7 separate regions of the Homo sapiens genome follow, and all the other regions are linked to region 7. Evidence: promoter capture Hi-C in 16 types of primary human blood cells and fetal thymus (Javierre and others, 2016). All regions are on one chromosome and are shown on one strand. The core of a region is centred on a gene start or on the middle of the fragment in contact, and the rest is flanking DNA. Distances in the headings are between cores, read along the strand shown.

Region 1 (2,700 bases), core at 63-2,562, 2.8 Mb before region 7:
AACCCATTTGCAAGAGAGAACACAGGGATGGTTTTTCTTACCTTTCATAAATTCGAATGTTGGAGCAGTTTATTGCTTTATCAAAGCGGTGTCTCTTGAAGTCCTCCATGCCATCCTTGATCATGATGACGAACAGGACAATGGCCAATGGTAACATGGTGATTTCTCTGTGGAAGACTTCCATGGAGGGCATCCAGTTCAAAATCACCAGGAACAGGAAATAGAGGTTAGCCCATCTGGAGGGGCAAGCGAAGTGTGAATAAACACTATGGAGAAGAAAAATGTACTTTCTCCCCCATTTCTTCCCTACTGTTTGGCCTTGATCAATTAAACCTTCTCTTTCAGTATCACCTCAAACATTATGGTAATGGATTTGAAGCCAAACCCATCTAGATGTATTTATTATTTCCATAGATTATTGGGGAACAGGTGGTGTTTGGTTACATGAGTAAGTTCTTTAGTGGTGATTTGTGAGATTTTGGTGCATCCATCACCCGAGCAGTATACTCTGCACCCAATTTGTAGTCTTTTATTCCTCTCCCCTTCTCACCCTTTCCCCCTAAGTCCCCAAAGTTTGTTTTGTCATGCTTATGGATGAGACTGGAGATGATTATTCTCAGGAATGGAAAACCATCTAGATTTAAATTCTGTTCCTGTTATTTACTCGTTGTGTGATTTTTTTGAGCTTATTTCCTCTTGCACAAAATGGGGATAGTATTATGGACTTTAAAGGGGTCCCATAAATATTACATGATTTATAATATTTGCATGATATACAGCAGAGGGCTCTGGAGCATAGCAGTTGCTCAGTAAATGGTCACTTATAATAATAATTACAATATTGAGGGTGATATATAAGCACATATTTTAACTTTTAATTTAAAATGATCTCATACATTATCTCAAAAGAGTTGCTGATGTTTTCAAGTTTTCCACGTGCATCTTGCTCTCTCTTGCCACAGTGCCTTTGCATGTACAGGTCTGTCTGCAGGAACATTCTGCTGACTTCTGTCCATCCCTTTTCACTCAGGTAATGCAGTCTCTCTTTCATGTTGTACTTCAATTCCCTGACTTTCTTAACTAGGCCAAGATTTCCTTATTATTCACTATAATAGCACCATATACCTCTCCTTAGAAGTATCTATTGTAGTTACAACTTTATATCAATTTATATAATTAAAAAACTAATGTCTGTCTCTTTTACTAGACAATATATTCAATAAGGACAGTATCTCTCTGCCTCTCCATTTTTTTTATGTATCTCTAGCTCCCAGCTTATGGCCTGAGACAGCATAGAACCTGACAAATATTTGTTGAATGAAAGAATGAATGAAAAAACTTCTTAAGACAAATGCATTTGGATATTAAAGGAAAGGTGGCCCCCAGAGGGTAGCATCTCTGAGTTTATCTAAGTGGTAAATACTTGTTTAAAATATGTATTGGTGGCCGGGTGTGGTGGCTCACTCCTGTAATCCCATCTCTTTGGGAGGTTGAGGCAGGCGGATCACTGGAGCCCAGGAGTTAGAGACCAGCTTGGGCAACGTGGCAAAACCCCATATCTACATAAAAGTACAAAAATTTGCCGGGCATGGTGGTGCACGCCTGTGGTCCCAGCTATTTGGGAGGCTGAGGTGGGAGATTCCCTTGAACCCAGGAGGTGAAGGTTGCAGTGAGCCGAGATTGCACGACTATACTCCAGCCTGGGGAACAGAATGAGACTCTTTCTCTAAAAAGAGTATTGTTCAGACAAGTGGATCTCTACCTATGAAATTGCTCAAAGAGATTCCGGGGCAGGAAGGTGAAGAGGGTGTATTTGGTTGTGCAGGTTCTGTTGCCAGGGTATCTCCTGGAGACCTCTTCCCAATCTTGATGGAATATGCTGTTGTTGGGGAACACGACCCGCTGCTGTGTCAAGTTGTAGCTCTGTCTCCCTTTCTCTGGAGAGAGCAGCGGTGTGGTTTCCGATGGACAATGGGGGAAGCCATCTCTGACTCTCCACTGCCACCGATGCCACGATGAGTCCACTGAGAGGGCCATTTCCAGCAGCAGGCGAAGATCTGAAAACAGACACAGGAGGAGCTATGTTTAGGAGAAACGTGCAGCATGTTGGCCTGTTCATTTCTCCCCCATCCATGCAGGGTAGACACTGAAAGTAGTCTTAACCCACACTTTGACCTACTTCCTTGTAACTAAAGGTCACTAGATCCTGACCATTTGCTTCCCTGTTGTTCCTAAAGATAGGATTTCTGACATTAGAGTCATAAGGATTTTGTTTAAGATTGAGTATCTGAGGTTAGAATCCCTATGTTCTAGGGTGACACACTAAACAAATAATCACATAAATAACATGCTCCTAACACTGGAATACGTGCCATGGGAGCATTGAAGTGGGTGGGACGTGCTTTTGGCCTAATTGGGGCTGTCAGGGATAGCTAAAGTGTGGCTTGCTGGGCTATGACCCTGCAGGTCAGAAGACTAGCTCTGGTTCAGTCCTAGTGGGGAGCTGTTCCTTCACCTTCAACTGATCTCCAGCTTCCTCACTGTGAAATCAGGAACACTATTCTTTCTATACTTATTCCACAAGATTTTTGTGAGGAACAAATTGGATAGTACAGAAAAATATATTGGGACACATCTTAAAACAAAGGAAAAGGTACCTATTCTTTAGGTTTTCTTTGGCGCTAACATTTTCTGATTCTG
Region 2 (3,041 bases), core at 196-2,695, 3.0 Mb before region 7:
CAACAGAGCAAGATCCCATCTCTACAAAAAAATAGAAAAGATTAGCGTGGTGCTGCATGCCTGTAGTCCCAGCTACTTGGGAATGTGAGGTGGGAGGATTGCTTGCCCAGGAATTTGAAGCTGCAGTGAGCTAGGATCAGGCTACTGCACCCAAGCCTGGGCAACATAGTGAGACACTCTCTTGTATATATATGTGGGGGCGGGCGAAGGGGTGGGGGGAGAGAGAGAGAGAGAGAGAGAGAGAGATGCAAGAATAAGAACTTCTGAATACTTTTAAACCAGATTCACCAACTGTAAACATTTTGCCACATTTGCTTCTCTCTGTCTCATTACACACACACACACACACACACACACACACACACACCATATACATTTTTGTAAACTATCTGAAAGTAGTTTGCACATATCAAGCCCTTTTATTCCTAAATCCTCTAGTATATATTTCCTGAGGATAAGGCTAAGGCTATTCTCTTACACAATCAAAATATGGTGATCAAATTCAGGAAATTTAACAATACTATTGTCTAATCTTCAGTCTGATATCACCAGTTACCCTGATAATGTCCTTTAGATAGCCCAGGGCCCTATCTAGAGAGGAGGGAGACTGAAACTCCCTGAAAACAGCTGAATCACAGAGACTCAAGGCAGACACTCAAGGGCAAGGACCTCCTGCTACTTTTCCTTGGGGCCTCCTTGGATTGAGGGCCAGCATCTCCAAGACTGACCTCTGGGATGTTTCTGTTCCTACTGATGCCCCACTGAGGGTCTTGGGTTCCCCTATATATACGCCTTATTACTTCCATAGCACATTCTCCCCCATCTCCATTGCTTAAGGCAAGCCCACAAGTCTTTATTATTTGCAACTGAGAGTAGGAAAGGAAAGAGAAAATAAATGGAGAGGAAGAGAGTGGGATAAGTAAGTAGTGAAACAGCAAACCAAGCTATTTTGCCCTTATAAACCTAGAAATTGCTAGATGACCTTGGACAAGTTACATAACATTTACAAGCATCAGAACCAACATCAAAATTAAACTGGCTCTTACTGTGTCCTAAGGGTGAGACAAGGGTTTTAAGAACTGAAACTTGGGAGCTATTATGATTGGCAAATGGAAGGATGGGAAAAGTCTACAGATAAGGTTCTGTACTTAAGAATGACCCACTTTGTCATACACGTATATCTACTTTCATATGGATATTTGCACAAGGGTTTCTTTTTTTTTCTTTTTTTAAGAGGGGGTGAAAGAAGGAACTCAGTGCACATGACATTGGTGGGGCTGAAATAAAAAACCTCGATTTAGAAATCTGATACAAAAGCAAAGTCATCGTTTTCAAATCAAAACTTGGCTCTGCTTCATTGGCTTGCCTCGTGCTTCTGCACAGGCTTTCGGGGGAGGCTTCCAGGCACATGTGCCTAGAGGCCATCCTTCTAAGTGTGCACACTGGAGCTGTAAGGGCAAGGGTGGCTGCTACCTCACATTGGCACTGAGAAATATCCGGAGAGTGACTCCTTGGCATGAAATTCAAACACCTTATGTGGTGATCTGGTCCCACTTCAGCCCACTCCTCATCTCCCATCCTCCATCCAGCCAAATTCTACCTCTGTAGCTCCTCCACCTCTCAAGGGCCATCATACTTGCTGTTTTCTCTGCTTGAAAAAACATTCTTTCCGGTCTTTGCCTTCTTAAATCCTACTTCCGTTTCTGTGCTCAGCTTTGAAATAACTTCCTATGTTTCCAAGGAAACCCAAACTTGGGGTAGGTGCTCCTACTTGAAATCCCAGTATCCCATGAATTCTCCTGTCTGAGCATGACTGTGATTGTCCATTCACCTGCCTGGACTCCCAAGTCGATTTTATGGTCTGTGAGATCAAGGACTGTGTTTTCTTCACTGCTGTATTTCTGGCTTATAACACAGCAGTTGATACACAATAGGTGCTCAATAAATATTTATTGCATGAATGAAAGAGAAGCAGGCTCAGGGCTTCTGACAGGTTGCAAATTAAAAATAAAAGAGTAAACTGTGTTTGGTAACATGACACAAACCCACTTGTACCCCCATTTCCACCTCCACCTGTCAGGGAAAACTCAGATTTATTGCATTAACTGGAAGTCTGGAGTTGGTCTTTAACTTATTCCTTACCTTCTCTAGCTAAACATCCAACTGGTCACCAAACCCTAGATAGTCCACATCTTAGGGTAACTTAGGTTCTTTCTCATTTCCATTCTCACTTTTGTTGCCCTCCTCACTTCCTTGTTGGGTCAAGAAATTCCATTGTTCCTCAACCTTCAGCATCTACTTTGTTCTAAAAGCTCCTCATCACAGGATTTAAAACTTTACCAAGATTACCCCACTGGTCTCCCATGATGGAGGTACCCATTCCGGGTTCTTGGCCATTCCTTTGACATATTTACTGCTGCATTCTCTTAATTCATGTTGCTTCCTTAGCAAGGAAGTCCTGTTTTCCCTTCTTTCCGCCCCCCTGCTCCCCCTGCCTATTGAAGTTTTACTTATCTTTCAAGGCTTAGCTCAGACTCCTCTTCTAAGCATTTTAATTCTCCGAATCTAATTTGTTCCTGTGTTCAGATAGCATGTTTAGATAGGGAGGAATGGTGAGTTATCAAAAACGAAGAGGTTCCTGATTTTGAGAAAGCAAGTAGAGTTCAAATAGAGGACAATACCTGTCATAACGTTGGCTCACACTTGTCATACTTGTTCCCATTTACTAAGAACCAGGGATGAGCATTTCACCTGCTTTATCTCTTTTATTCTTCATAATAGCTCTATGGGGGTGGGAAGAGGGGGCTCTTTGAATACCCTTATTCTGAGGATAAAGAAACAGAGGTGCTGGGCATGGTGGCTCATGAGCAGCACTTTGGAAGGCCGAGGCAGGTGGATCGAAGTCAGCAGTTCGAGACCAGCCTGACCAATAGGGAGAGACCCCGTTTCTACTGAAAATACAAAATTAGCCGGGCGTAGTATCAGACGCCTGTAATCCCAGCTACTTGGGAGGCTGAGGCAGGAGAATTGCTTGAACCCTG
Region 3 (3,002 bases), core at 19-2,518, 2.7 Mb before region 7:
TTGTCTTGTGTGGCTGCAGAACAGGATTTCCCAATCTTAGAACTATTCGCATTTTAGGCTGGATAAGGCTTTGTTGCAGGGAACTGTCCTGTGCATTGTAGGGTGGTTAGCAGCATTCTGGCCTCTACCCATGAGATGCCAGTAGCACCCCGACTCCCAAGTGTGGCAACCAAAAATGTCTCCAGACATTGTCAAATGTCTACTAGGGGTAAAATCACCCTGGTTGAGAACCACCATTATAGAAGATACAAATAGTAGTCAGTGTAATAGGCTATAGGGAGTCAACATTTTTAATAGCAGGGGGAAATTAATCATGATCAGAATTACCAATAGTAGAATTAAGCTATCTAGGGTGGGAGTAGTGGTGAAAGTGAATTTTCTATTTTTATAAGCCAACAGTAGCCAATGTGACTATCCATCACAGCGGGTATTTAAACACTGGGTAGATAGCTGAAGGAGGTGAAACTTGACCTTTCTGAGCTTGTGTTGTTTTTTTTAATCTGTAACTTGAGTATATAACAATGCCAACACTACAGGTTCCTGTGAAGATGAAATGAGGTAACACACATACAGCCCTCTGAACAGCATGTAGCACATACTACATACTTGATACATGGCAGATATTATTATTATAGAGGCCGAAACATGCACTTCAGAAATACATCCCTATATCAGAAGGCTTTCATCTCTGTTCACTGTCCTCTTGGTTCCTTTACAGGAGAAGAGAAGATGCTTATCTGACTGATCAAAACATTGACATGGAGGGAACTAGGGGTCAAGATCATTGTATCCTGAAAAGCTCCAGCCTCTTTCCCGTACTCTGTCTTCCAGTCTCTGTGATAAACAGATGTAGGCAGCCAGGCCACTTGGGGAGACTGCTAACCTCTCTCTTTTCTGACTCCATGCCCACAGATGGGTGAGTAGACTTGGGTCCCTTTTGGGGCCTGGTTATTCCTCCTGTCCTGCAGGGTCATGTTTTGGAACATGGGAGTCAAGATTTAGATGGAGAGTAGAGAAAGAGAGACAGGGCAGGTAAGAAGAATAATTTAGGTCTCAGTAAACCTTGTGAATCAACCCAACCTTTTTATCAGAGCTTTGAAGCATTTTCACAGCTATCAATAATGTAACACTGTCCATCCTTTTTCACTGTCTGCCATGGTACATGATTTTCTTGGGAAACCCACAATGCAGTAGGATGATTAGCAGAGCTGGATTTGGGCTTTTTAGGGTCTCAGACTCAGTAACTTCAAAATAATAATAAACTCAGAAACACAATCCACAAAAAAATATTATATGATCATTAGAGCTTTTTTTGAGTCATAAAAAATTATGATTTAAGAATCTGGAAAAGAGGTTAGATTTGTCTTTCTGGGCCCTTTCAGATTCTAATCATTTTCTCTGAATTTGCCTTATTATCTGACTTGAATCCAATTCTAGGCACAGACACCATTAAATATTTTGTATGCTTCATAAGAAAAGTCCTGGCTGGTATCTGTCTGGTGGATCTATCTAGATTATAATTTTTTCAAAGCCTCTTCTGGAATGACGATTGACATTTTGAATAACAATTTAGTCCTTAGTTTGTATCATGAAGGAAACACAGGTAAACACGATAACTTATTCCAAGGCTTTAACCCAGATAATCAGAGAATAGTTTTGTCATTCATAAATGATGTGTCTATAATTATCATACACTGAATGCACAAAAAGAAAATAAATGAACAATTTTTTTTAAGATTGTTATTTCTCCATGTGTTTTACTGAACTCAGGAAGGCATGAGTGAATAGCTGAGGCCTTTCTAAATCTGGTCTTTCCACATATCAGAGCTTAATGTTTTATAGACACCTATGGCAATAGGCTGTATAGGAACTGTCAATATGTCTATACCCCAAGGAATATCCATAGGTCTGCTCTTTTCTGTGCTCCCTCCAAGCATGCCTTTTCACCTTCCTCATGCAAACTTTTCATTCCTTACATTCCAACCTCACCAAAGGCTAATTATTTTCTTTTCGGAAACATCTTCCTCCAGAGAGAAAAATCTGAATTTTGTACCTATTTTCTTAAATTCTATTTCCTGTTTCAATATAGTAACTCATCCTTTATTTCCACTCTGGCTGTGCTCCAGAATTTGCTTGTCAATAGGAATAGTGGAGTAATTCCAAGACCCAGCACTTCCACCGCAGCCATTACCGCAGAGGCAACGTGTAGGCCATGCTTACAGGGTCTTGGACTCTGTCTTTTACATTTCACAAATGTTCTTAGAATTGTGTCTTTACGCAATGGAGGAAAGTACCAAGAGTTTTGGAATATGGCTCCCCAAATCTGAACATCAAGAGAGGGATCAAATTTCATCCTATAATAGGCAAATTAGGCTGTCTGAGCACCTTGATACCCTCAGAATATAAGCCAACACCTTTACTTATTAACTGCTAACAGGCACTTTACAAACACTTGTAATAGCAGGCTTGTAGCTCAGCAAAAGGAGGTGTGACCGGATTTTAAATTGTGTGCTTGCATTTTGAAATAAGCAATAACCAAGCAGGCTAGAATTCTTTTTTTCCTTAAGACCTTGCTTCCTGTATAGTCTGCATACACAATACTCATGAATAAAAGGCACTGCGATTGCTCCTAATGTCCCAGTTGGCAAAACAAGGGATTTCTGCTTTCTAAACCAAAGTTCCCCGTTCTTTTGGATTATATGCTACAGTAAAATTTTCTAAGAAATTTTGGCAGCTGAATTAGGATTGCCAAATTTTTTACTTTTCCAATTAAGGTCATTAAAAGAAAAACAAAATAAAAAATAAAACCAATCAACTACTTTCACCCTCACCATGGTTTTGTTAAAAATGTTAGAAAGCCTGCTTGCCAGCTGCTTGGATACAAACTTGGTGCTATTGGTGGAACACAGCTGGAGTGAGCCTGGCCTTGCTGGCTGCATGGGAGCTGGGTGAGGCCTGTCACTGCCGGCTTTCCCCCACTTCCCTGGAGACCTGTATGATGC
Region 4 (2,946 bases), core at 256-2,755, 2.9 Mb before region 7:
CAATATGGGGAAACAGGTGGAGGAAATCTGATGATCAACCCAAACATCTCAGGACAGGAAGCTGCATCTAGAGTAATGAATACTAATTTCAAACCTATATATTGCATTCGGTGGGTAAAAGTGTGAGCGGTAGAAACAGAAGGCTGGATATCATCAACTGAAGAATGAGGAGGTTCATAAATTTGGAAAGGAGAGCTTTATTTCTCATAAAGGATTGCAGCCTGCAGGGTTGCCATTCTGACAGGGTGGGAAGCATAGCCTCTGGTCAGAAGCCCAAAACAGATACTCTGAGGGTGGGGCAAATGGAATAGAAATTTATGCTGAGCAGAGTGGTCGAATATACATATTCAATAAGCTATCAGAGGAATCATGAATATTTATGAAGGAGAAATATGCACACGTGCAATTGAGCTTCATCCCCCTGCTTGTGTCCCATGTACAAAAAATGACGGTGTTAGCATGATCTAAGGGTGGAGTTTTTGGCCCTTTGACATCAAAAGGTGAAGTAGACAGGAACACCCTTACTGTGCATTCTTTGTAGATTGGCCAGAACCACCCTGTGGTCGGTGGTCTCTTATCGGGCAAAAAAGGAGAGGCAGCATTAGGCGGTAGACTGATACCAGTGGTGGAGTCTTTTGAAAGGGCTGTTTTCTTTTTAAAATATTTTTAAATTTATTTTTTTATTTTCAATAGGTTTTTGGGGAACAGGTGGTGTTTGGTTACGTGAATGAGTTCTTTAGTGGTGATTTGTCAGATTTTGGTGCACCCATCACCAAGCAGTGTACCCTGTACCCAATGTGTAGTCTTTTATCCCTCGCCACCCCACCCTTTCCCCGAGTCCCCAAAGTCCAATGTATCATTCTTATGCCTTTTGTTGTTCTCATAGCTTAGCTCCCATATATGAGTGGGAACGACAATGTTTGGTTTTCCATTCCTGAGTTACTTCACTTCATCCAGGTTGCTGCAAGTGCCATTATTTCATTCCCTTTTATGGCTGAGTTGTATTCCATGGTGTGTGTGTGTGTGGCTGTTTGAGTGTGTGTGTATATATATATATACACACACACACCATATTTTCTTTGTCCATTTCTTGTTTGTTGATGGGCATTTGGGCTGGTTCCATATTTTTGCAATTGCAAATTGTGCTGCTATAAACATGTGTGTGCGAGTATCTTTTTCATATAATGACTTCTTTTCCTCTGGGTAGATACCCAGTAGTGAGATTGCTGGATCAGAAGGTAGATCTACTTTTGGTTCTTTAAGGAATCTCCACACTATTTTCCATAGTGGTTGTACATAGTTTACATTCCCACCAACAGTGTAAAAATGTTCCCTTTTCACCGCATCCACACTAACATCTATTATTTTTCTGATTTTTTGATTATGGCCATTCTTGCAAGAGTGAGGTGGTATCTCACTGTGGTTTTGATTTACATTGCCCTGATCATTAGTGATGTTGAGCATTTTTCCATATGCTTCTTGGCCATTTGTATATCTTTTTTTGAGAATTGTCTATTCATGTCCTTAGCCCACTTTTTAATGGGATTGTTTGTTTTTTTCTTGTTAATTTGTTTGAGTTTGTATCAGTCTGTTTTCACGCTGCTGATAAAGACATACCTGAGACTGGGAGGAAAGAGGTTTAATTGATCTTAAAGTTCCACATGGCTGGGGAGGCATCAGAATCATGGCAGGAGGTGAAAGGCACTTCTTACATGGTGGCAGCAAGAGAAAAATGAGGAAGAAGCAAAAGTGGAAACCCCTGATAAACCCATCAGATCTCATGAGACTTATTCACTATCATGAGAATAGCATGGGAAAGACTGGCTCCCATGATTCAATTACCTTTCCCTGGGTCGCTCCCACAACGCGGGGGAATTCTGGGAGATACAATTCAAGTTGAGATTTGGGTGGGTATACAGCCAAACCATATCAGAGTTCTTTGTAGATTCTGGCTATTAGTCCTTTGTAAGATGTATAGATTGCGAAGATTTTCTCGCACTCTGTGGGTTGTCTGTTAGCTCTGCTGATTATTTCTTTTGCTTTGCAGAAGCTCTTTAGATTAATTAAGTCCTATCTATTTATTTTTGTTTTTGTTGCATTTGCTTTTGGGTCCTTGGTCATGAAGTCTGAAAGGGCTACTTTCTGTTAAGCCCTTAGGGAAGAAAGGCTAATGATGGTTAATGAGGGAGGGGGTATAATGATGTGTATCTGAGTCTCCTATCCTGTCATGGCTGAGAACTCAGTCTTCAAGTTTACTCTGGGATCCCCTTGGCCAAGAGATGGTCCATTCAGTCAGTTGGTGGGGAAGGGGGGGGCTTTGAATTTTACTTTTAGTTTATGATATATAGTTGCATGACCTTGAGCAAGTTGCTTTTCTCTGCCTTATTTTCCTTGTCTCTTAAGATGAGACTCACATTAGTTGCTACCTTAGTGGATTGTTTTCGGATTGAGACAATAGCACTGTGCCCAGTACATGTTAAGCACTCAATATATTTAAACTATTATCATTGCTATTGTTGTTTTATCTCAATGAACTTCTAAAGTGCCTCTAAGGAGGGTAGAATAGATATTATTAACCCCATTTTACAGCCTCAGAAACTGAAGCAAAGGATATTTAAGACTCATTATGACATCATACTGCTTCACTATTGCTGGCAGGATAAAACTAGGACTTAGTTTTCCTAACTTCACGTGGACCGGACAAGGGACAGGTTCTGTACGTGTGTTCTAGAAAGGGGGACAGAATTTATTTTTTGAAAAGGCAATATAAGCACATAAGTAAAATTCTGCAAGAAGGTGTGCAGTGAAAAATAAACCTCCTTCCTATCCCCCTCATCTCCAGTTCTTTGGTCCCTTCCTGTTGACAGATCCTGTGCATCTTTCAGGAGCTGTTTCATGCATACACAAGCCTAGTGTGGGTGTGTGTGTGTGTGTGTGTGTGTGTGT
Region 5 (2,886 bases), core at 217-2,716, 3.0 Mb before region 7:
GGAGGTCATCTGAAAGATACTGTGGTCTTCCGAAACAGAATATGTCAGTCAGGCAGAGGATGGGAAGATGACTGAGGACGGGAGGGGAACTTTCAGAGGGCAGAGAGAAGGAGTGGTTAATCATAATAAAAACATAGAATTTGTTATTATAAAATAATTACTCAAGAAGTGTTTTCTAATTGTCTACCATGTACCATGCACTGCTGTTGTGGGACGGGGTAAAAAGAGGCGGAAAATGTGATATCTACCTTTGAGAATTTCACAGTCTCACAGGACTTGCACCTATGGGTGCAAGACCCTGCAGGATCACATGTTAAATTGCGTGATTGGATGACAGATGTGTGGGATGATTTTTTACCCTCCTCCCAGCTGTTTTCCACACCCAACCAAAATATCTAAAAAATACAGCCTGGATCACATTCCTTCTGTGTTTCCTCTGTCTTTAGTTAAGGTCAACTCCATATTTCTCAGCAAGGCCAACATGAATCGGCTCTTGCCTTTCTGGACCTTCCTCTCCTCATGCCATCCCTAGTCTCGTTATTGACCTCAGTAGAGGAGTCTCTCTCCGTCCTCACAAGTGTGCCTGGTCACATCCTATTTGTGACCATTTGGACATTCTGTTCCCTGTGCCTGGAACTCCCTTTTACCTGGTCTTTGCCAGACCATGCTCTACTTATTCTTCAGGGTTTCTCCTTAAATGTCATTTCTTTCCAACTACCAGGTGCTTCATAGAATCTTGAGCTTTTCCACTGGTCGCATTTATCACATTTGGGCTCACTTATCTGTGTGATTATCAGTGAGATTTCAGTCTCTCCTGTTTTGTGATCTCCATGGACCATGCTGGTCTTGTCTGTGCTGCAACCCCAGGATCTAGCACAGGCCCGACACATGCAGCAGGTGCTCTGTAAGTCAGTGATGGGTGAATGGATGAGCAAGGAGAGGTTCCACTGGGTCAGTGCAGTTGTCCTTTCGAAGCACTTTGTTGCTCCTCCTGGAGCCCTTGGTGTGTTGAACTTAGCATCCTGTTTGTCTACCCTCACATCCTCATGAGCTTCCAGAGGGCAGGGATTGAATCATCATCATCTTTTCATCTGGTTCACATAGGAACTCAGTGCAGGTTGTAGGATGAAGGAAAGAATAAACTGTGTACGAATGGAGCGGGCCTTATCTGGGTTTTAAAGCTTGCCTGGGGAGGAAGGTGGAGAAAAAGTGAATTCAAGGATCCAAAATAGCAGTGGGAGCCAGGATGCAAAACAAGAGTAGGGTTTTGTTTTGTTTTAAAGCTGAAAATCTGCATTAGAAAAATACCGGATAGTCACCAGACACAGCATGACAGGATGTACTCATGCTACAAAGATGGGAGGGTTGAGTGGGGGGAGGCTTGGAATTTCCCCAGCTGAACTTTATACCTTGAACAATGTCCATCTTTCAGAGCTTGCTGCTCTCCTCAGGAGTTTTATCCATTCAACACATTTTTATCAAGCACCTATTCCATGGGGAAGATATGCCTCCCCTCAAAGAGCACGAAAATTGGCCCTTAGGAGGTGAAAAAAAACTCTATGTGTAAAGCACAAATATACATACAGTATATATAGACATATAATATATCTGTAGTGTTAACATTTCATAGTGGGGGGATTAGAAAAAAAAAAGTCTGAAAAGGTTCCTTAGAAGGATGATAATGAAAAAAAGATTGAGAAACTGACCTACTCTGTGCCAGGCATTCTTCTGGTTAAAGGGCCTACTCCCATGAAGCTTTCACTCTTACCAGGCAGAAAGACAGTAAACAAATAAGTAACTGTAAACTAATAATAAATTGTATGAGGCAGAAAAGCAGGCAAGGGGCTGGAACGTTTGGGGGATGGGTGGGGCATGTCTGTGTTTCCTTTAGGTAGAGTGGGTGAGGGATGGACTCTGATGAGGTGAGGTTTGAGAAGAGTCTGGAAGAAGTGACAGGTGAACAGTAGAAATATTTTGGGAAAGAGCATTCCAGGAAAAGGTAACAGCTTGGTGCAATTAAGAACAGCAAGGAGGCCAGGTGGGCAGGAGTGGATGGATGAGGGAAGGATGGTAGAAAATGCGATTGGAGGTAGAGGCAGGGGCCAGATGACATGGGCCTTGTAGGCCATGCTGAGGGGTTTGGGTTTTGTTCTCTGTGTGATGTAAAGTTGCTGGAGAGCTTTATGCAGGGGAGTGACATGATTTGATTTATCTCTCCTTTTTTTTTTTTGAGACAGAGTCTTGCTCTGTCTCCCAGGCTGGAGTGCAATGGCATGATCTCGGCTCACTGCAACCTCCGCCTCCCAGGATCAAGCAATTCTTCCTGCCTCAGCCTCCCGAGTAGCTGGGATTATAGGCACCCTCCATCATGCCCAGCTAATTTTTGTATTTTTGTAGAGACAGGGTTTCACCATGTTGGCCAGGCTGGTCTTGAACTCCTGACTTCAGATGATCTGCCTGACTGGGTTTCCCAGAGTGCTGGGATTACAGGCGTGAGCCACTGTGCCTGGCCTCTTTTTTTTTTTTTTAAATACTTTAAGTTCTGGGATACACGTACAGATGGTGCAGGTTTGTTACATAGGTATGCATGTGCCATGGTGGTTTGCTGCACCCAGTAATCTGTCGTCTAGGTTTTAAGCCCCACATGCATGAGGTATTTGTCCTAATGCTCTCCCTCCCCTTCCCCCCACCCTCTGACAGGCCCCAGTATGTGATGTTCCCCTCCCTGTGTCCATGTGTTCTCATTGTTCAACTCCTACTTCTGAGTTATCTTTTAATAAGATCCCTCTGACTGCTATTTGGAGGGTGGACTGCAGAGGCAGGAGTGGAATCAGGAGACCTCACTGTTGCAGATCTCCTAGGTGGGAGCTGATGGTGGCTTGGGTG
Region 6 (2,791 bases), core at 153-2,652, 2.8 Mb before region 7:
TCAGTGATGCTTACTGAAGTGGCTAGTCCGCAGATCATACTTGGCATAGCAAGTTCCCACTTGGCCCTGGGGAATGATCTGACCCATGCTTCAGTGGGACTTAGGCTTCAGTGATTTGGAAAATAGATAGCCAGGGACATGTTTGATCTGAAACACTAACTGGAAGCATTCATTTCTGATTCTTTGGCTTAGATAACTGTTACATTTATCAAAATGAATGCTATATACTCCTTTCCAGGTGTTAAATTCCTAGGTTAAAACTCTTTTACAGAAGAGGTTTCAGGTATCAGAATGTCACCAAAGAGAAAACTGTACGTTTGAATTCTCTAATAAAGTCCTCTTGCCAGCTGGACAGGTTTTTAGCAAATCCTAATTCCTTCCCTTTCCCCTCTTTTTTTAACAATGGGAAGTGAGAGTGAATCTCTCAAAAATAGGTCAATAATTTTATAAATTCAAAGATGGCCCATTGGGATAAAAGTTCCAATGAAAAAAAAAGTAGATTTAGTCCAAGAAGAATTCTGAGGAAAGGATTTGAAACTAACTCTTTGGCAGCCTTGAGGATAATCTGCAATGTCATGGGAGAAAGACCCTTTTAAGAAGTTCTTTAATGTTTATAATTTCATTTGAACCTAAACAGGAAAAGGAAGAATGAACTGCTTAAGCCATGAGGATTGTCAACTTCTTTGTTACCCTTCACCTGTTGTGACCATGTCTGTACCACAATTCAGGCTAATATTTTCTGAAAAGGTCCATAGGAATGTTAATAATATTTGTGCTGAAAAATAATTCTTAGGTTAAATAAATTTGGAGAGCTCAGGGCTAAAGAAAGTTTAACAGGCCTATTGACTCCAGGCTTTCTCAGAGACGTTAATATGTTAATGAACATTGGAACCTGCAAGAGGGGTTCACAGGACAAAAGCTTCTTAATTTGACTTGTAAACTGTAATCTGACTTGACCACGGACCATGAGTTTTTCAAGAACTGTCTCTTGGGACAAGTGCTTAGCAGACTGTGAGAAATGCAGATCTATGTGAGCTGGGACAAAGTATGTCTTACTGACTTTGAATTACCCGAATATAGTAATTCTCATCATCCAGAAGATGGTAAAAATGAGTGTGGGTATATATGTGGGGTTAGATGTTCCTAGTAATCTCTGTGGTTAGTAAAAACCCTTTTGGCAAGGTGAAGGTCTCAAAGACAGTAGGGACTTAGAGGGAGAATAAACTATCAAGAGCCATTAATACTTATTATGTAAGATATTAAATTTCCAAACAAACCATATTTGTAGGTGTTCAAAATCTCTGAGATGATTAGTGAGATTTGCTCTTTCAGTGCCTCAGAGGTTTCATGTGTAAAATAGGGATAGTAATGCCCACCTCCCATGGTGATCTTAGGCTTAAAATAGACAATGCATGTAAAAGAACTAGTATATAGTAAAAAGTACCTAGATGGTAGTTTTCTCCCCATTATTAGGATAAGTGTTTCTGGAAGCACTGGAGATGGCGCCTCTCCTTGGTTGTACAGGTTTTCAAGGAGGTGGTGGTAGGTTTATATCGAGATTGTCTGGGAGAAAATTTTTAAAAATATGCACACTCAAGTCCCTACTCAGTCCTAGTGAGTCATAATTTACTGGTGGTGATACAGAAGGATGCATATATATTGTTAAAAACTTCCCGTGTGATGATTATGATACACCTTCAACACCTGTAATATACTTGCAGCAAATCCCTTAGTGGTAGCCCACCCCTCCTACAGTAGTTCTGAGATGTGTTTCTTGGGATAAAAGTTTCTTGTGCTTAAATATTTAGAAATACTACATAATAGCACCTGTCCTTCTCCTTGGGGCTTATTAAAGTATCAGAGAAATTCTGCAGAACACATATTTGAAAGCTTGTAATCTATTGTCTTCTCATATTACTTGGCCTTGCAACATTTATTTTTCTTGCAACTCTCATCAACATGTTTGTTCAATACGTTAGGGAAATCCTATGGTACCGAGTTAGCCAGAAGCGAGTTCTATCCATACTCAGAAATCTTTCTGCCCTAAAAGTATAAGGGAGAAGCAAGGTCGCAAAGAGCAGCCAAGATGTCTCCCTCCAGGGAGCAGGCTGAGCCCACTTTCATTATCCCTGCCACCCTCTATCTCTATGTGGAAAGAATCCTGGCAACAATAAATGTGTGCTTTCAAGTAAGCATCTCTGTGTGAACGCAAGGTAACAGTTAAAGGGCCAGGGAGATGAAGTACTGAGCCTTAAAAACTGAGGCTCTGGGACCGGGCACAGTGGCTCACGCCTGTAATTCCAGCATTTTGGGAGGCTGAGGCAGGCGGATCATGAGGTCAGGAAATCGAGACCATCCTGGCTAACACGGTGAAACCTCGTCTCTACTAAAAATACAAAAAATTAGCCGGGCGTGGTGGCCGGCACCTGTAGTCCCAGCTACTCGGGAGGCTGAGGCAGGAGAATGGCGTGAACCCGGGAGGCGGAGCTTGCAGTGAGCAGAGATCGTGCCACTGCACTCCAGCTTGGGCGACAGAGCAAGACTCTGTCTCAAAACAAAAACAAAAAACAAAACAAAACAAAACAAAAAACTGAGGCTCTGGACAAACCTGGCTTTGAATCCTGCTTCAACACTTCCCGGCTCAGTGACCTTGGGCAAGTTACAGGACCTCTGTATGCCCCAGTTTCGTTTTGTATAAAATGGAGACAATAATAGTGCCCATCTCATTGGGTTGTTTTGAGGATAGACGAGATAATCATGCAAAGCCCTTAGTATGGAATCAATAAAAGTC
Region 7 (2,700 bases), core at 127-2,626:
AAAGCCAAAAGGAGAAACTACATTTATAAACTCACACATTACAGCAAAAAGTATTTTTAAATAAAATCACTTGTTAAAGGTTATAAATTGCCAATTTATATTCACTAGGTAAGCTTTTATTTTCAAAAGGAACAAAGGCCTCTTCCCCATTTGAGCCCCAGTTTCTTAAACTGACCTGATTATGTGGCTAAGGTATTATTGTGAGGTATTGATGTTTTCTCCTGTTTTTCCTTCCCCTTCCTCCCCACCCCTTTTCCCCCTTTCCAGAGTTTTGTTCTGTGGCATTGCCTTGGGTAAGTACACGGCAGGGCAAATAGCAGAGTGACGGCAAATCTTTCAGATTTTCACTTTTTCAAAGTAAGAGAGACCGAACTGGGGCCATGAGAACAGAGACATCCAACTACTGTGTAATTCATAAGAGTTTAGAAATGACTCCTTGTGCACCCTTTTTCAGGCCCTTTTACAAATGGACTTTTCTCACTTGTGATGATCTGGGAGAGTGAGAGTGAGGAGAGTCTAAGAAGAGTTCAGGCTAATTATTTTCCCACTAATCTGGCATAGGAGAGGCTCACAGAGATTAAATTCATTATGGTAAATACAAAGAGTAATACTGCTTTACACTCGGGTCTGTAGACTGAGATTCACACTCACCACAATTATTCCTGTTAACAGTCTGCCACATACCTTTCATTTTAAGCAACTGAAAAATTGTACCAACTTTTCTCTTTAAATTTGCTTTAAAAGCAAATTCAGAAAATTGGTAGAGGGTCAAGAAATTACACAGTCCAACTCCATTATTTGATAAATTGTATAAAAAGCAAACTAAGGCAAGAATCAACTGACTTCCAAAGTTCACGAAGAGAGCACTCTGGAAGTTGATAAACCACCAAACCATATAAATTCCACCACCTCTTTATCTGTAATTAAAAATCAAAGGTTGACTTTTTTTTTTTTAACTACTCACTGTATTTTTAGAAAGATGGGGCAGAACCACTGTAGAACTCCTAAACCCCACAGAACAAACAGTACATTCTGGAATGATACGCCGGCCAATCCGGCTGGCAGCCGATTGACCTGACCCAGGCGAGGGTTGCTGCACCGAGTATTTAGTTTGGCCCCCTACTGAATGAAGACACTTTGTTAAATTCTCCAATGAGAGACGCTTAGAGGTAGGGGCGTGGAAGGGGGCCGGGGAATTTGAGGCCAGATAACGGGAAGTGTGAGCCGATTGGCCGGACTTCTCACTCCACGGCCCAGCCGTTTACGGATCGCGGAGGCCATCCATCAAAAGAATTACACCAATCAGCGGCGAAAATGCCCCCTTCTCGCGAGAAAGCCCCGCCCTCCAATATATTCCTCGTTAGGGCAGGCGCGGCCCCTTCGGCTCCGAGCTGACCCTGATCAGGGCCGAGTTGTCTCGGCGGCGCTGCCGAGGCCTCCACCCAGGACAGTCCCCCTCCCCGGGCCTCTCTCCTCTTGCCTACGAGTCCCCTCTCCTCGTAGGCCTCTCGGATCTGATATCGTGGGGTGAGGTGAGCAGGCCCGGGGAGGGTGGTTACCGCTGAGGAGCTGCAGTCTCTGTCAAGGTGAGTGGGACTGCGCGGGAGTTGACCGCCAGGTGCGGGTGGGGAGCTGGGTTGGGGGCGCGGGGCGAGGAGTAGGTCTGGCCCGCGCCCTTTTCCACACTAAACTCTACCGCTGTTGTGAGCACAAGCCCAGGCTAGTCCGAGGCTGGAGGGGCGGAGCCGGATCCGGCCTCCTGAGGTGCCTTTCGTGTCTGCCGACCCAGTCCCAGGGACTAGCCTGGGGAGGAAGAATGGAACCCCTGCAGTTAGAGGTTCCTCACATGACTAGCTCTGAAGACCTCCTGCCTTCCTGTCTTTAGTTGGTGTGGGAGGGACCTTCCATGTATCCAGGGCTTAGCTTGTGCCCGGGACATGGTTGTGTTATGCACACTTAAATCAATGGAATTCCCAGGTTCATCTTTCAGACTAGGTTAGCAACAACCCACCGCACCCCCCCGCCCCAATACGTGCTCCTAATGTCACCTTTTAAGTTTCCTTTCCTAACAACAATAAAAGTTAAGTAATATTGAGTATTGTGTGCCAAGCACTGTGCTATACTCTTTAAGTGGTGAATCATCTTGTTCAGTCTTCACATTCAGCGACAGATATTGTTACCCTCATTTTATAAATCTAGAAAGAAGCTCAAGCTCATTATTATTGTTCAGTGTTTTTTAAGCGTCTACTGTATGTGCTAAGCTCTTTACGTGATTTCATTTTAACTCACAAATCTGTGAGGTAGGTCATAAACCTTATCCCTACTTTATCAATGTGGAACTAAGTACAATTAAGTAACTTGAACAGTTCATTTTGTTAATATGTGGCAGAATACTTAACTACCATCTGCTTTTCACTTTCGGTATCCTGTCTTACGGTGTTTATTCGTGGTTATCTATTGACAGTGAATAACTTGAACAAGTATTTCTTGAAGATTTGCATTTTATTTTTCTAAAAAGCATGGTTCCGACCGGGCGCGGTGGCTCACGCCTGTAATCCCGGCACTTTGGAAGGCCGAGGCGGGCAGATCACAAGGCCAGGAGACCGAGACCATCCTGGCCAACATGGTGAAACCCCGTCTCTACTAAAAATATAAAAATTAGCTGGGCGCGGTGGCGCATGCCTGTAATCCCAGCTCCTC

The links. Contacts are between HindIII fragments. The CHiCAGO score rates a contact against its expected background, and 5 or more counts as called.
Region 1: a contact is called between a fragment that was not itself captured here and the fragment with the promoter of CCNG1 in region 7, in 1 of 17 cell types (M1 macrophages). The highest score is 9.1, in M1 macrophages.
Region 2: a fragment that was not itself captured here is called in contact with the fragment with the promoter of CCNG1 in region 7 in 9 of 17 cell types (activated CD4 T cells, M0 macrophages, naive CD8 T cells and 6 more); the score reaches 21.8 in activated CD4 T cells.
Region 3: a fragment that was not itself captured here is called in contact with the fragment with the promoter of CCNG1 in region 7 in 1 of 17 cell types (M0 macrophages); the score reaches 6.1 in M0 macrophages.
Region 4: a fragment that was not itself captured here is called in contact with the fragment with the promoter of CCNG1 in region 7 in 15 of 17 cell types (non-activated CD4 T cells, total CD4 T cells, total CD8 T cells and 12 more); the score reaches 30.9 in non-activated CD4 T cells.
Region 5: a fragment that was not itself captured here is called in contact with the fragment with the promoter of CCNG1 in region 7 in 16 of 17 cell types (activated CD4 T cells, naive CD8 T cells, non-activated CD4 T cells and 13 more); the score reaches 32.3 in activated CD4 T cells.
Region 6: a fragment that was not itself captured here is called in contact with the fragment with the promoter of CCNG1 in region 7 in 1 of 17 cell types (M0 macrophages); the score reaches 6.2 in M0 macrophages.

What each region holds. Positions count from the first base shown.
Region 1 is chr5:160,686,038-160,688,737 of GRCh38, forward strand. It overlaps ATP10B (ATPase phospholipid transporting 10B (putative)), which reads right to left. Exons shown (of 26, transcript NM_025153.3): 5 at 1,763-2,057; 6 at 42-236. The coding sequence starts at 2,037. Among named protein-coding and RNA genes, the nearest start is that of ATP10B, 160 kb to the right of the region's middle. The HindIII fragment of the contact is 3,336 bases long and covers 1-2,700 here.
Region 2 is chr5:160,451,679-160,454,719 of GRCh38, forward strand. No RefSeq gene overlaps it. Among named protein-coding and RNA genes, the nearest start is that of MIR3142HG, 15 kb to the right of the region's middle. The HindIII fragment of the contact is 7,393 bases long and covers 1-3,041 here.
Region 3 is chr5:160,757,778-160,760,779 of GRCh38, forward strand. All of the region lies in intron 2 of ATP10B (ATPase phospholipid transporting 10B (putative)), which reads right to left. Among named protein-coding and RNA genes, the nearest start is that of ATP10B, 93 kb to the right of the region's middle. The HindIII fragment of the contact is 5,998 bases long and covers 1-3,002 here.
Region 4 is chr5:160,501,257-160,504,202 of GRCh38, forward strand. No RefSeq gene overlaps it. Among named protein-coding and RNA genes, the nearest start is that of MIR146A, 17 kb to the left of the region's middle. The HindIII fragment of the contact is 5,828 bases long and covers 1-2,946 here.
Region 5 is chr5:160,476,425-160,479,310 of GRCh38, forward strand. All of the region lies in intron 1 of MIR3142HG (MIR3142 host gene), which reads left to right. Among named protein-coding and RNA genes, the nearest start is that of MIR3142, 3.4 kb to the left of the region's middle. RefSeq lists enhancers at 1,065-1,613, 1,198-1,492. The HindIII fragment of the contact is 574 bases long and covers 1,180-1,753 here.
Region 6 is chr5:160,664,667-160,667,457 of GRCh38, forward strand. All of the region lies in intron 7 of ATP10B (ATPase phospholipid transporting 10B (putative)), which reads right to left. Among named protein-coding and RNA genes, the nearest start is that of MIR146A, 180 kb to the left of the region's middle. The HindIII fragment of the contact is 971 bases long and covers 918-1,888 here.
Region 7 is chr5:163,436,219-163,438,918 of GRCh38, forward strand. CCNG1 (cyclin G1) reads left to right here and starts at 1,377. Exons shown (of 7, transcript NM_004060.4): 1 at 1,377-1,586. It also overlaps a transcript of LOC105377700 not described here. RefSeq lists enhancers at 982-1,031, 1,473-2,050, 1,742-1,941 and a silencer at 1,222-1,301. The HindIII fragment of the contact is 4,161 bases long and covers 112-2,700 here.